Regions from separate parts of the Homo sapiens genome. Here region 1 is linked to region 2. The links are contacts of gene promoters, found by promoter capture Hi-C in human tissues and cell types (Jung and others, 2019). All regions are on one chromosome and are shown on one strand. Each heading gives the region's core, a stretch centred on a gene start or on the middle of the fragment in contact. The rest is flanking DNA. Distances are from core to core; before and after follow the strand shown. Region 1 has its middle 13 kb from the start of IL31. Region 2 holds the start of B3GNT4 (UDP-GlcNAc:betaGal beta-1,3-N-acetylglucosaminyltransferase 4).

Region 1 (2,700 bases), core at 155-2,654, 43 kb after region 2:
GAAAAAATACTAAATAAATAAAGAGATTCATCAGAGCCAGGCCTGGGAGGGAAAAGAGGAGGGAGCAGGGGATTCAGGGAGCTGTCCCACCACAGGCAGGTCTGACTCTTGCTGGAGGACAGGATGAAGGAAGGAAAGGAGGTTGGGGGCAGCGTCTCAGCCTACGGTGCCATCCTGGGAGACTTCAGCACGAATGTGGGAAAATCCTAAGAGAAGCCTGGGTCTCCCAGGAACGAGCCAGCCTCAGCATCCCTGCCATGCTGTCTCTAGATGGGAGAAGCCTGCGGGAAGCGGGGTCTCCATGTGCTGGGTGATGGATTTCCGGGCACAGCAGCTGGGGGCCCTGGGTCAATTATACTTCCCAGAGTGGGAAATCTGAGGGGCACACTTTCACGGCTGCTATACAACCCCGATGACTGAAAATAAGGCAATGAACAAACAGTGGCCGCTCAAAGTCATTTTATCAAAGAATGTTTACTGGCAGGGTAAAATGCTTCAAGTATGACGTTAATTTATAAAAGCAGGTTATAAAATATATTTATGACGATCCCCCATTGAGTTAAAAAATATGTCTGTTGGGGGAACACGGATGGAGTTGGAGGCCATCATCCTCAGCAAACTAACGCAAGAACAGAAAACGAAATACCACACGTTCTCACTTATAAGTGGGAGCTAGATGATGAGAACCGATGACCACAAAGAAGGAAACAACAGACACTGGGGTTTACTGGAGGGGGAGGGTGGAGGCGGGCAGGAGGGTGGGGGGGAAGAGGGAGAGGAACAGGCAGAGAAGATAACTGTTGGGTACTAGGCTTAATACCTGAGTGATGAAATAATCTGTATAAATAAACCCCCATGACACAAGTTTACTTGTTCATTTTCTTTTTTTGAGACAGAGTTTCGCTCTTGTCACCCAGGCTGGAGTGCAGTGGCGCCATCTCAGCTCACCGCAACCTCTGCCTCCCGGGTTCAAGTGATTCTCCTGCCTCAGCCTCCCAAGTAGCTGGGATTACATGTGCTGCCACGCCCGGCTAATTTTATATTTTTAGTAGAGACAGGGTTTCTCCATGTTGGTCAGGCTGGTCTTGAACTCCCGACCTCAGGTGATCCACCCACCTTGGCCTCCCAAAGTGCTGAGGTTACAGGCATGAGCCACCACGCCTGGCAGTTCATTTTCATACTGCTATAAAGACATACCTGGGGCCAGGCACAGTGGCTCACACCTGTAATCCCAGCACTTTGGGAGGCCGAGGCAGGTGGATCACAAGGTCAGGAGATTGAGACCATCTTGGCTAACATGGTGAAGCCCCATCTCTACTAAAAATACAAAAAATTAGCTGGGCGTGGTGGCGGGCGCCTGTAGTCCCAGCTACTCGGGAGGCTGAGGCAGGAGAATGGCGTGAACCCGGGAGGCGGAGCTTGCAGTGAGCTGAGATCGTGCCACTGCAGTCCAGACTGGGAGAGACAGCGAGACTCCATCTCCAAAAAAAAAAAAAAAAAAAAGGCATATCCGAGACTTGCTATTTTATAAAGAAAAGAGGTTTAATTGACTCACAGTTTTGCAGGGCTGGGGAGGCCTCAGAAAATTTACAACCATGACAGAAGCGGAAGAGACACTTCTTACATGGCCGCAGGCGAGAGAGAGTGGTGAGCAAAGGAAGAAGCGCCCCCTTATAAAACCATCAGAGAGAACTCACTCATTATCACGAGAACAGCATGGGGAAAACTGCCCCCGTGATCCAATCACCTCCACCTGGCTTCTCGCTAGACACGTGGGGATTACAATTCCAGATGAGATTTGGGTGGGGACATAAAGCCTAACCATACCATGTTGCTATGTAACAAACCTTCACATGTACCCCTGAACCTAAAATATAAGTTTAAAATAAAGTGTCTGTGTGTGTGTGTGTGTCCACCTATCTTACATATAGACAGAAAGCAAGACTGGCAAAAAAAAAAAAAAATCTTTGGGCAGGGGGAGAATTTTTCTTTTTTTGTTTTTTCTTTTTGATCTCAGTGGTGCGATCTCAGCCCACTGCAATCTCCGCCTCCTGGGCTCAAGCGATTCTCCTGCTTCAGCCTCCTGAGTAGCGGGGATTACAGGTGCCCACGACCACACCAGGCTAATTTTTGTATTTTTAGTAGCGATGGGGTTTCACCTTGTTGGCCAGGCTGGTCTCAAACTCCTGATCTCAGGTGATCCACCCACCTCGGTCTCCCAAAGTGCTGGGATTACAGGCATGAGCAACCATGCCTGGCCAAGAATTTTCTTTATATTTTAATGTATTTTCCAAATTTTCTAAAGTTAGTATGTATTATTTTAGAAATCAGTCAAATAAACATGATTTCAAGTTTTAAAAAAGAAATAGCACTTGGAGAGAAGGTGAGAAATGGAGAGGTGTGAAGGCTTTTCCAAGTGTTGGTAATAAGGTAAGAAAAGACTTTAGCACCCCCAGGTGTCTTACTGTAGCAGTGGGTTTGTGACATTGGTGTTTCTTCTCAACCATCTCTGACACCAGGCTCAGCTCCACTGTCCCCAGCTCTTTATCTGCTCTTCGGATCTCCCCGCTGAATGGACAAAGCAGTCCCCTGGCGTGACTCCTTGTAGAACCAATTTTGCAGTAAAACCAATGCAATATTATTTCTCTCAGCCCTTTTACGCACTACCCAAAATGACAGTACTTTATAGTGAGAAGGAAT
Region 2 (2,700 bases), core at 119-2,618:
AAGAGGCCAGCCCGGCTAGTGAAAGAGCTAAGGGTTTTGTTGGTTTTTTTTGAGACAGTGTCTCTGTCACCCAGACTCTAGTGCAGTGGCACAATTATAGCTCACTGCAGCCTGGAACTCCTGGGTTCAAGCGATCCTCCGGCCTCGGCCTCCCCAGTAGCTGGGACTACAGGCGTGCAGGGCCCGGCTAATTTATTTTTTGTAGAGATGTGGTATCTTTTGTTGCCTGGGCTGGTCTGGAACTCCTGGCCTCAAGCGATCCTCCCGCCTTGGCCTCCCAAAGCGTTGGGACTACAGGCGTGAGCCACCGGCCAGAGTTTTCTGAGCCCCCTGGAGATCTATGCGGGGGTGGGGGACAAGGGGGTCTGGCAGAGGCGGTGAAAGAATCTGACCTTTGGTAAAAGGCCACTCCTACCGCCCCTTCCCTGGTGGGCTGCGGAAGGCTGGGGAGGAAGCATGAACGGCAGCTGGAGACTGTCTCCGTGCTCAGGATGCCGGGCGGCGGCGGCGGCGGGGTCGAAGCGAGATGAGTCTCAGGTGTGCGAGCACCGCGGGCTGTGGACGAGAGGCCCGGGCGGGCGGCGGTGCCATTCACCGAGAAGGGCGCACAGCAGGTGGCTTGGTTCCGTCCCAGGAGGTTTCAGCCCAGGCTGCGCCGCGGCCCGGGTGGCCCCTGTCCCGCCGCGGGCGTCCCCAGGCGCTGGCCGCACGGCCTCGCCCCGCCGCCCTCCGAGCCGCGGAGACCCCAGAGCCCGGCTCTCCACCCGCCGCGGAGCGCACGACCCCGTCTGGTGGGGCGCGGGTCCTGAGGCTGCGCTCGGCCTTGGGCGGCAGCCGCCTCGGATCCCCACAGGACTCGGTGACCCAAAACGCCCTGGCGCGGGCAGGGGGCGAACTCTGGTTCATTCTTTCAACGCGACAGTCTCCGAAGGGCTGACGGCAGCAGAGACCCACTCTGCGGGGACCCCCGGGCCGGGGTTGGCAGCAGCGCTGCGCGTCGGGCGCGGGCGGCCCAGGCTGGCGGGGTCTACCGCGCCCGGCTCCAGCCTCTGTCCCCAGCCTGGAGAACCGAAGCCGAGCGGCCCGTGGGCCCCGAGCCGTGCCCGCCGAGGCCAGACTCGCGCCGCACCCGGGCGGGGCCGGCGTCCTCGCGGGGACCCTGGGGGACCGGGGAGCGGGCCGCGGGGTGCAAAGGCACGGCCGCCCTGGCGACGCCCCTCCCTGCACGGTGACCCAGCCTCCCTCACAGCAGCGGCGTCCCGGCCCCCAACCTACCTGAGCGTGACGCCGGGGTACGGGCGTGGAGCTCGTGCAGCGGAGCCAGGGCGGATGGCGCCCAGGTGCGCGGAGCTCTCGGGGCTCGGGAGTGGGCGGGGCTTCTGGAGGAGGTGGGAATTTGGGGCGGGGTTCTGGCGGGGGCGGGTTTGGGGCCTCCCCGGACCCAGCCGCGGGTCTCCGCAGCGCCGGAGGCTGGACGCACGCGTCCCGCGCCCGGTCCTGGGGTCCGCACGAGCCGGGTCGGGCAGAGGCTGCTCCTCCTCCCCAGGACGCCGGCGCCACACCCGCCCCCCGACGCGTGCGGCGGGACAGAAGCGGAGGCGGGAGTGCTGGGAACAGCCTTTACTGCCCACGCCCTACACGGCGAACATGCGCAGAGCCTCCTCCGCCGAGCGGCACTGGTTCAGCTGGATCTGCACCTCTACGGTCAGGGGCTCAGGGTGGTAATCGCCTTCGTAGATCGGAATCACGGCTTTCGGCTTTTCTGAGAAAATTTAAGTGCGAGCATGAGCCCCGGGAGACGGATGGGCTGGCGTTCTCGGCCGCCCTGACCCATCCCATATGCAAGCCCTGGACCCTGTCCCAGCGGGAGCACAGTTTTGGTCCTCGGGTGTTAACAGTAATAAGAAATAAAATTAAATTGTATTTAATTAGATCATTTAATAAATCGCAGCTGTTTGAGTTGCAAGACTGGCTGCTTTTTGCTTTGAGACAGTGTCGTGCTCCGTCGCCCAGGCTGGAGTGCGGTGGCATGATCCCGGCTCACTGCAACCTCCGCCTCCCAGGTTCAAGCGATTCTCCTGCGTCAGCCTCCAAGTAGCTGGGATTACAGGCGCCTGTCACCACGACCGGCTATTTTTTGTAGTTTTAGTAGAGACGGGGTTTCACCATGTTGGCCAGCCTGGTCTCGAACTCCTGACCTCAAGTGATCCGCCTGCCTAGGCCTCCCAACGTGCTAGGATCACAGGCGTACACTACCGAGCCCAGCTGCAGATATTTTCTTAAAAATGAAGTAATTATAGCACTTCAGGGGAAACAACTGAAAGCATTTCAATAAATGTATAACATTTGCCCTAAAAATGAGACAACATTGTATCTGCCACCATGAATTTACCAATTTTCCAATACGCAAAGACCTTTCTAATGATGTGGGTGGTGATAGTAAAGAACGTGATCTTTGGAAAATGTATAGTGACAGGTGTCAACTGTTGGAATATCTGCATAAGTCTGTTAACCTGTAGTTTACAAGTAACTCATGCATGTTACAAACTGCATGGTAAAATATCCGTTCAAAATGCAAACTAGATTAATGAATTTTAATCTGATTATGAAAAATTCAATATAGATTGTTTTCACATTGTAACAACCTTTAAGAAATTACCACTTGTCAAATTTGGTGTAATATTAAAGAAATTATATTAT

What was found. Contacts are between HindIII fragments. The study calls those that stand out against the background at their distance.
Region 1: a contact is called between a fragment that was not itself captured here and the fragment with the promoter of B3GNT4 in region 2, in 2 of the 25 tissues and cell types used here (dorsolateral prefrontal cortex and small bowel).

The regions. Positions count from the first base shown.
Region 1 is chr12:122,159,883-122,162,582 of GRCh38, reverse strand. No RefSeq gene overlaps it. Among named protein-coding and RNA genes, the nearest start is that of IL31, 13 kb to the left of the region's middle. The HindIII fragment of the contact is 8,474 bases long and covers 1-2,700 here.
Region 2 is chr12:122,202,377-122,205,076 of GRCh38, reverse strand. It overlaps B3GNT4 (UDP-GlcNAc:betaGal beta-1,3-N-acetylglucosaminyltransferase 4), which reads right to left and starts at 1,368. Exons shown (of 3, transcript NM_030765.4): 1 at 1,276-1,368; 2 at 393-555. The coding sequence starts at 458. LRRC43 (leucine rich repeat containing 43) reads right to left here. Exons shown (of 12, transcript NM_001098519.2): 12 at 1,606-1,762. The coding sequence ends at 1,635. RefSeq lists a silencer at 1,054-1,683. The HindIII fragment of the contact is 16,495 bases long and covers 1-2,700 here.